2 separate regions of the Homo sapiens genome follow, and region 1 is linked to region 2. Evidence: promoter capture Hi-C in 16 types of primary human blood cells and fetal thymus (Javierre and others, 2016). All regions are on one chromosome and are shown on one strand. The core of a region is centred on a gene start or on the middle of the fragment in contact, and the rest is flanking DNA. Distances in the headings are between cores, read along the strand shown. Region 1 overlaps DHX37 (DEAH-box helicase 37). Region 2 holds the start of AACS (acetoacetyl-CoA synthetase).

What was found. The method cuts DNA at HindIII sites, captures the fragments that hold promoters and counts their contacts. A CHiCAGO score of 5 or more calls a contact.
Region 1: a contact is called between a fragment that was not itself captured here and the fragment with the promoter of AACS in region 2, in 1 of 17 cell types (neutrophils). The highest score is 5.6, in neutrophils.

What each region holds. Positions count from the first base shown.
Region 1 is chr12:124,955,398-124,959,911 of GRCh38, forward strand. DHX37 (DEAH-box helicase 37) reads right to left here. Exons shown (of 27, transcript NM_032656.4): 17 at 1,632-1,738; 18 at 1,294-1,482. Among named protein-coding and RNA genes, the nearest start is that of TRA-TGC4-1, 18 kb to the left of the region's middle. The HindIII fragment of the contact is 8,476 bases long and covers 1-4,514 here.
Region 2 is chr12:125,063,219-125,067,514 of GRCh38, forward strand. It overlaps AACS (acetoacetyl-CoA synthetase), which reads left to right and starts at 2,217. Exons shown (of 18, transcript NM_023928.5): 1 at 2,217-2,499. The coding sequence starts at 2,367. LOC105370052 (a long non-coding RNA gene) reads right to left here. Exons shown (of 4, transcript XR_001749365.2): 3 at 1,785-1,892. RefSeq lists a silencer at 1,858-2,477. The HindIII fragment of the contact is 11,218 bases long and covers 1-4,296 here.

The sequences.
Region 1 (4,514 bases), core at 1,053-3,552, 110 kb before region 2:
TTCTCCAGAGAACCCTATTATTCTCCCCCAAGGGATTCTGACGAATAGCTGGGATTACAGGTGTCCATCACCATGCCCGCTTTTTGATTTTTAGTAGAGACAGGGTTTCACCATGTTGGCCAGGCTGGTCTCAAATTCCTGACCTCTCAAGTGATCTGCCTGCCTCGGCCTCCCAAGTGCTGGGATTACAGGCGTGAGCCACCATGCCCGGCTAAAGCTGCTTTTGAAGTTCAGATGCACTGACCCTGAAAAGATACAGGACCATCTGATCTCATTTCCTCAAATTAAAACTCTGTCCGTGCAGAGCACAGGGAAACGTCTGGAACTGCACTGGCCAATACAGTGGCCACTAGCCACATGTGGCTGTTTAAATTTAAACTATTAAAAATAAGTAAGGTTTTAAGTCAGTTTGTTGCCGTAACTGCCACATTTCACAGGCTGAGGCCACGTGTGGTTAGTGGCTGCGGTATGGAATGGCCCATGCAGTGATGTGGCCTAAAGCAAAGTTCCTGGTTAGGGTGGGTGGGACCGGGGAGGGGAGGTGGTGGAGGATAAACAAAGAAAAACCATCCAGATCTCAACAGATTCCCCAGTGTCCACCTAACTGCCTTCCCAACTAGTGTCTGCTCTGTCATCTGACAAGATGGTCCAAACACAGGCAGATTGACCCTAAGGGAAGCAGCAGGCTTTGCACAAGATGCAGAGGCTCACAGAGTCGATGAAGTGACATTGTGGGCCTGCCTGTACCATTCACAGTGGACGAGAGATGGTGGCAGCAGAAGCCTGGCTCACAGCTGAGGGAGAGATGGTCAAAACTGATGGCGTGAAAGGCGGTTTCAGGAGGAATGATGTGAACGCTGAAGACTTACCAAGCCCTTGAGAAACTCAAGTTGCTTCCAGAAATCTCTGCAGAAATGACCCCTTTTATCATTAAGCTGCCAAAGGCAGATCTACGCAATAGGATGCCAGGAAATTATTAAATAATTGTTCATTCTAAGAATTAGCATGTAGTCATAATCTATAAGTAAATTTTGTTAAATACACAATGCACTAAACATACTTTCAACATACTTTCACAGTCTTAGTGTCACTTTTCTTTTTCTTTTTTTAGAGAAGGGTCTCACTCTGTTGCCCAGGCTAGAGTGCAGTTGCACAATCTCAGCTCACTGCAACCTCTACCTCCTGGGTTCAAATGATTCTTCTACCTCAGCCTCCTGAGTAGCTGGGACTCTCAGCCCAGAGCCCCCGTCGGAACTGAGCTTGGCCCTGAGTGCCCAGCCGCCAACCTCGCACCTGTCCAGCTCCTCAAACAGCTCCCGCACCGTCATGCTGGCCACGATGGTGATGGCATAGGGCAGGCAGCCGTGTTGTCGGCTCAGTGCCAGCATCTTAGCGTAGCGGGGTGCCACGGGGAATGTGGCCATTGTCCGGCCCAGCGCAGTGATGGGGCAGCTCAGCCGGTTCTCCTGCAGTTGCTTCACCCTGGAGATGGAGGTGGTGGTGGCAGTGCTCTGAGAGGAGCTCTGGAGCCACAGCTGGGAGGCCCCACGCTTGAGGCAGCTCAGGCCCAGCAAAAGGGAGAGAGGGCCCTGAACGGGGCAGGAACTGGGCTCTGCATCTCTTGGCCTTACCTTTCTGCTTTCTGGGGCGGTTGCAGGGCACCCAGTGCGATCAACAGCTCCTCGGCGGCAAGAAGGGCTTCCACGGAGGGGGGCGTCGGGAAGGGGAAGTTGATGACCTGGGACACAAGGAGACGTGGCAGGGACAGGGTGAATGCCAAGAACAAGTCCGGTGCTCCTGCTCCGTCTGTGGCAGGCACTCCCTCCAACCCCTCTCTCCGGGCTCAGCTCATGCCAGTGGGGACACAGGGGCCTGGGGCACTCTCAAAGGCCAGGTCCCAATGGAACCCCAAGGCCTCCTTTACTCACTCACCTCATCCATTCACTCAAAAACACGTCCCAAGCACTGGCTAGGCACTGAGGGCTGTGCTTTGCCCCCGCTGGGTGCTTTTTTCGGTTTTTAACAGACTATTATACTCATGAGGACTGAGCGTCATTTGACCAGGAGGGGCCACAGGTAGTCAGTGAGGCATAATACGAATAAATTGGCCTGGTGCGGTGGCTCACGCCTGTAATCCCAGCACTTTGGGAGGCTGAGGCGGGTAGATCACCTGAGGTCAGGAGTTCGAGACCAGCCTGACCAATATGGTGAAACCCCCATCTCTACTAAAAATACAAAAATTAGCCGGGTGTGGTGGCGCTCGCCTGTAGTCCCAGCTACTTGGGAGGCTGAGACAGGAGAATCATTTGAACCTGGGAGGTGGGGGTTTCAGTGAGCCGAGATCACACCACTGTACTCCAGCCTGGGTGACAGAGTGAGACCCCATCTCAAAATAGTAATAATAACGTGAATAAATTTATCACAATAGCCAAAAGATGGAAGCAACCTGTGCGTCTCTGAATGGAGGAGTGCATGAACAAAACGTGGGCCACCCATAAAATGGACAATGATTCAGCCGCGAATAGGAGTGAAGCAGCGACACGCGCTACACCACGGATGGAGCTTGAGAACATCATACTCAGGGAAAGACGCCGGGCACAAAGGCCACGCATTGTAGGATTCCATCTGCATGAAATGTCCCAAACTGGCAAATCCATGGAGAGGAGTGGGCACAGGGGCCAGGGAGCTGGGAGGTGGTGACAGATAAAGGGTACATGCTTCCTTTCTGGGGTGATGAAAATGGCCACGGTGGTGATGTCCGCACAACTTTGTGAACACACTGGAAACTACTGACCCACACACTTTCAATGGGTGACTGTGTGGTGCCTGAACTCTATCTCAATAAAGCTAGAGGCGGGGTGGTGAGCCTGCAGCAGGCACGCAGGTAAGGAGGCAATGCTAGGAACCCAGGTCTGGGGGAAGGCAGGAGGGGGCCTGCTCTGGAGCTGACTCAAGAGCCAGGGGAAGCCACTGCGGAGTTTCTACAGAGTGGACTTGATGTCACTTGTGGGAGGCACTCCCGACAGTGCTCCCAGCCACACTGAGCTCCCAGCCCAGCCCTGACACTTTTTATCCACGTGACCCACAGTCAGGCCTGTCTCAGTGTCTCAGGCTCCTCATCTGGAAAATGGGGTGATAACACTAGTAACTCCCTCCTAGAGTGGCTGGGAGGATAACCTGAGGTCACACGTGCTGAACGCCCAGCACATACTTGGCATCCATGATTCTTTTTTTTCTTTTTTTTTGTGAGATGGAGTCTTGCTATATCGCCCAGGCTAGAGTGCAACGGCGTGATCTCGGCTCACTGCAACCTCTGCCTCTTGGGTTCAAGAATTCTCCTGCCTCAGCCTCCCGAGTAGCTGGAACTACAGGTGCCCACCATCACGCCTGGCTAATTTTTATATTTTTAGTAGAGACGGAGTTTCACCATATTGGCCAGGCTGGTCTCGAGCTCCTGATGTTGTGATCCACCCGCCTCGGCCTCCCAAAGTGCTGTGAGCCAATGCACCCAGCTTTTTTTTTTTTTTTTTGGGACGGAGTCTTGCTCTGTCTCCCAGTCTGGAGTGCAACGGCATGATCTTGGCTCACTGCAACCTCTGCCTCCCAGGTTCCAGTGATTCTCCTGCCTCAGCCTCCCAAGTAGCTGGGATTATAGGCACCTGTCACCACACCTGGCTTTTTTTTTTTTTTTTTGGAGACGGAGTCTCGCCCTGTCACCCAGGCTGGAGTGCAATGGCACAATCTCGGCCCATTGCAACCTCCGCCTCCCGGGTTCAAGTGATTATCCTGCCTCAGCCTCCTGAGTAGCTGGGATTACAGGCGTGTGCCACCACACTCAGCTAATTTTTTGTATCTTTACTAGAGACGGGGTTTCACCTTGTTGGCCAAGCTGGTCTTGAACTCCTGACTTTGTGATCCACCTGCCTCGGCCTTCCAAAGTGCTGAGATTACAGGCGTGAGCCACCACGCCCAGCCTCCCTGGCTAATTTTTTTTTTTGTATTTTTAGTAGAGACGGGGTTTTGCCATGTTAGCCAGGCTGGTCTCAAATTCCTGACCTCAACTAATCCACATGTCTCAGCCTCCCAAAGTGCTAGGATTACAGGTGTGAGCCACCAGGCCCGGCCAGCACCCATGATTTTTATTAGGTGAAAAAATCAAGCCCCCAAAGCAGCGTGTAACATATCAGACAATATTCACAAAACCACAGGAATAAAGTACAGGATGTTATGTGTTTGGAAACGTAACTGGGACACAGGTCACAAATGGCGGACAGTGGGACGGGCTTCACCTTCTCCCTGATGATCTCAAGTATCTGAAGTTTTTATGATTTTGAACATATTAACATCCAGAAAAATCAGTGAGCACAGATGTTTAAAAGGCACTAGGAGACCATGTGGGTTCTGTCACTTACTAGATGTGTGTCCCTGGACAAAAACCTTCACTTCCCTGCCTCCGTTTCCTCATCAGTTAAATGGGGATCTGAACGCCCACAGGACAGCACGCAGCGTGGCAC
Region 2 (4,296 bases), core at 967-3,466:
GGATCTCACGCAATAAAGAATTCAAGGCGAGTCTACAGACTAAAGCAAATGCAAGTTCCTTAGGAAAGTAGAGGAATAAAAAGATGGCTACTCCATAGACAGAGCACCCTGAGGGGTGCTGGTTGCCCATTCTCATGGTTATTTCTTGATGATATGCTAAACAAGGGGTGGACTATTCATGCCTCCCCTTTTTAGACCATATAGAGTAACTTCCTGACATTGCCATGGCATTTGTAAACTGTCATGGTGCTGATGGGAGTGTAGTAGTGAAGTCAAGCAGAGGTCACTCTCATCACCACCTTGGTTTTGGTAGGATTTAGCCGGCTTTTTTACTGCAGCGTGTTTTATCAGCAAGGTGTTTATGACTTGTATTTTGTGCCGACCTCCTGTCTCATCCTGTGACTTAGAATGCCTTCACTGTCTGGGAATGGAGCCTAGTAGATCTCAGCCTCATTTTACCCAGCCCCCACTCAAGATGGAGTTGCTCTGGTTCAAATGCCTCTGACATTAAGACCAGCTGGCTGTTAACCTTAACTTTAGCCAAGACAAACCCCAATTCAGTTACTTACCTAGGGATGGGTCTTAGGCTGTAGACTGCTCTCTACCATTCTAGAAGCAGGAAAAAAGACCTCATCTTCCCTGTTGGAAGCGAGCTCAAACTCCATAAAGGAGTTACCTGCCTTCCATTGTCATGGAAGCAGGAAACCTTGCCTTCCTTGTTGGAAGCAAGTAAAACTGCAAAGAAAAGAGTTGTACAGCAAAATAAACTTTAGATCTCCACCAAATTTTGGGAGATCAGGGAGGCTCTGGAGGGGGTGCTCTCAGACCTGGGCTCACTCTTGTAATCCCAGCACTTTGGGAGGCCGAGGCGGGTGGATCACCTGAGGTCAGGACTTCAAGACCAGCCTGGCCAACATGGTGAAATCCCGTCTCTACAAAAATGCAAAAATGAGCCGGGCTCGGTAGCTCACGCCTGTAATTCCAGCACTTTGGGAGGCTGAGGCGGGCGGATCACCTGAGGCCGGGAGTTGGAGACCAGCCTGACCAACATGGAAAAACCCTGTCTGTACTAAAAATACAAAATTAGCCAGGCGTGGTGGCACATGCCTGTAATCCCAGGTACTCGAGAGGCTGAGGCAGGAGAATTGCTTTAACCTGGGAGATGGAGGTTGCCGTGTGCCGAGATCTCGCAATTGCACTCCAGCCTGGGTAACAAGAGCGAAACTTCGTCTCAAAAAAACAAAACAAACAACAACAACAACAAAAAAAAAAACACGAAAAATTAGCTGGGCATGATGGCGTGTGCCTGTAATCCCAGCTACTCAGGAGGCTGAGGCAGGAGAATCGCTTGAACCTGGGAAGCAGAGGTTACAGTGAGCTGAGATTGGGACATTGCACTCCAGCCTGGGCGACTGAGTGAGACTCAAAAAAAAAAAAAAAGCTAAGGCGGGGAGGGGGCCTTCCAGGTCATAGGTAGATAAGGGACAAATGGCTGCATTCTTTTGAGTTTTCAATTAGCCTCTGCAAAGGAGGCAATCAGGTGTGCATTTAACTCAGCAGAGGGGTGACTTTGAATAGAATGGAGGCAGGTTAGCCCTAAGCAGTTCCCAGCTTTTCTTTTCCCTTTAGCTTAGTAGTGGGGCCCCAAGATTTATTTTCCTTTCACAAATGTGTATTTTGATACCCATTGGCATACTATGTATATTATTGTATTATACTATGACATTATCTTGTGTATGTACACGATGTACTTATTTGTTAATCGTCTCCCGTCTTCCTCACACCTGTACCCCTCCTCTCCTGTTGACAGAGAACAAGAATTTTGTTTTGTTCGCTGCTGTATCCGCAAAGCTCCCAAAGTCCTCCGAATGCCGCAGGCTCTCAGTAAAGACCTGCAGGAAGAAATAGCGAATGAATGATGTACACGTGTAGGAAACAGCGGGCTCGGACGCCTGGCTTCTCCGGCTGCCCTAACGCCCTCCAGCTCCAGGTGAGGTCGGGGAGCTGGGGCCAAGGCTCGTGAGCGCCCCTCACCCCCACGCCCCCCGGCCGCGGGCGCTGGAGCCGGCGGCTGCGAGCACTCCTTTGAGCGGCGCTGCACTCAGCGGAGGGTTACAGGCGGGAGGGCGGGGCCTGGAAGGGGGCGGGGATTCGAGGCGGGGCCTGCGGGGCGGGGCCTGGGCCAAGCGGCCCGCAGGAGGCGGCGGCGGCCGTTCAGTCCCTTGTTCCCCGCCGCCGCCGTCGCTGACCCAGCCCGCCAGGCGCTCCTGACCGTCGCTTCCTCCGGTCCCAGGTCCCCGGCCCTCGCCTCAGCCCCGGCCCCTGGTCCCCAGCCCTCGTCGCAGCCCCGGCCGCCCGCCGCCGCCATGTCCAAGGAGGAGCGCCCCGGTCGGGAGGAGATCCTGGAGTGCCAGGTGATGTGGGAGCCTGACAGTAAGAAGAACACGCAGATGGACCGCTTCCGGGCGGCTGTGGGCGCCGCCTGCGGCCTGGCGCTGGGTGAGAGTCGGGCGCGCGGCCGGGCCTGCGGGGGATGGGCGGGAGCCGTGCAGGGTGGTTGGGTGGTCTCCCCATGGCTAGTTTCACGCTTCTGGGGCTGGAGGAGCCACTTGATGGCGGGGAGGCCTTCTGACTGCGGGGTTCCCCCCAGTCTTGGGGAACATCACCCCTCCACAGCACCTCCTGGCACTTCCTGACTCTGCAGCGTCTCCTCTGCATGTGGGGGTCACCCTCTCCCCGGGAGTGTCACCCCTCGGGAGGGCCAGCTGCCTGTTGACCGTGTGACCCCTTGCTAGGCTTTCCTACCTGTGAGGTGCTCCCTGGAGTCTTGACCTCCGGCCTGTGGGGGCTTCCCCCGGACATAGGGCCTTTTTGACTTGCAGCTCTTCCTCTGTTTGTGGGGGTCCCTTGCCAGTCCCCAGTGCCGTGCACTCTGTCCCCCTGACCTCCCTCATCTCCAGCTGCCCCTGCTGGAGGCCAGCACCTAGCAGGATGGTCAGGCAGGAGGCCCTGTCCACGTGTCTACACTCCCAGCCCCCAAACAGAACCTAGTAAAAGACTCTCTTTCCACCCATCACCTTGAACCTCAGAAACTGCCTCTCTCGGTGCGGGTGGGGCAAAGGCTCCTTCTCCGTGGGGTAACCGCTCCGGGTGCTCTTCCTGAGCTCTAGCTGGCTTGCCCAACTACCAGCTCCACCCCTCCACCCTGCCTCCCCTAGGTATTCCTAGGGGATTTTTTTTTTTTTTTTTTGAGACAGTTTCTCTCTCGTTGCCCAGGCTGGAGTGCAATGGCGAGATCTCGGCACACTGCAACCTCCGCCTCCCGGGTTCAAGTGATTCTCCTGCCTCAGCCTCCCGAGTAGCTGGGATTACAGGCATACACCACCACGCCTGGCTAATTTTGTATTTTTAGTAGAGACGGAGTTTCTCCATGTTGGTCAGGCTGGTCTCGAACTCCTGACCTCAGGTGATCCGATCGCCTTGGCCTCCCAAAGTGCTGGGATTACAGGTGTGAGCCACGGCGCCTGGCCTCCTAGGGGATTTTTAACTCATGGTCTCCCCTCCTCACCCCCTCCGCTGGCGCAGGGACTCCCTTGTTTCTGTTGGTGGCGTCACTGTTCTTGCTCAGGCTCACAGGGATGGACACCCCAGTCACCTGTGGCACCAGAAGTCTTCTGCCACAGCCCCATGTCGCTCACATCTCCTCCTTTGCAGCCCCTTGTCAGGGGTTCTGGGGCCTCCTTTCCTCCTCACCAAACAGTGGTTGGTTTTCCTGCTTCCTGCTTTTCCATCCATTTGCATCCTGCTTGCTTTGCCAGAGTAATCTTGAAGCATACAGGTCTTACTTTGTCACTCCTTGGCTCAGAAGTTCTCAGTGGTTCCTTGTTGACCACAAAATTGCAGACGGCTGCCTGGCAGCTTCCAGGCCCTCCACAGCAGTGGGGAGCTTCCACAGAGTCATTTTCCTAGGCTAACCCAGAGCTGTTCCTCTCCTTCCCTTCCTCTCCCTTGGAGACAGGTGTAGTCTGTTGCCCCAGGGGCTTCTGGACAGCAGTTGGTAAATGAGTATGTGTTGGATTAGGGCAGCCTGGAGACTCCTGGAAGAAGCAGGAGGCTGCCATGTGGGATTATGTTCTTCCTCTGTGTCACCTTGCCTTGATTCCATCTGTTTCCTCTGCCAGCAATAACAGAATGCTGGTCTGGTGCCTGTCTAGCCCTGATGTTATGAAATAATTTCAGATCGGGCAGCCCTATTAGATGGGTGAAACCACCTTCCTCCGTGGGAAGTGTTGAAGA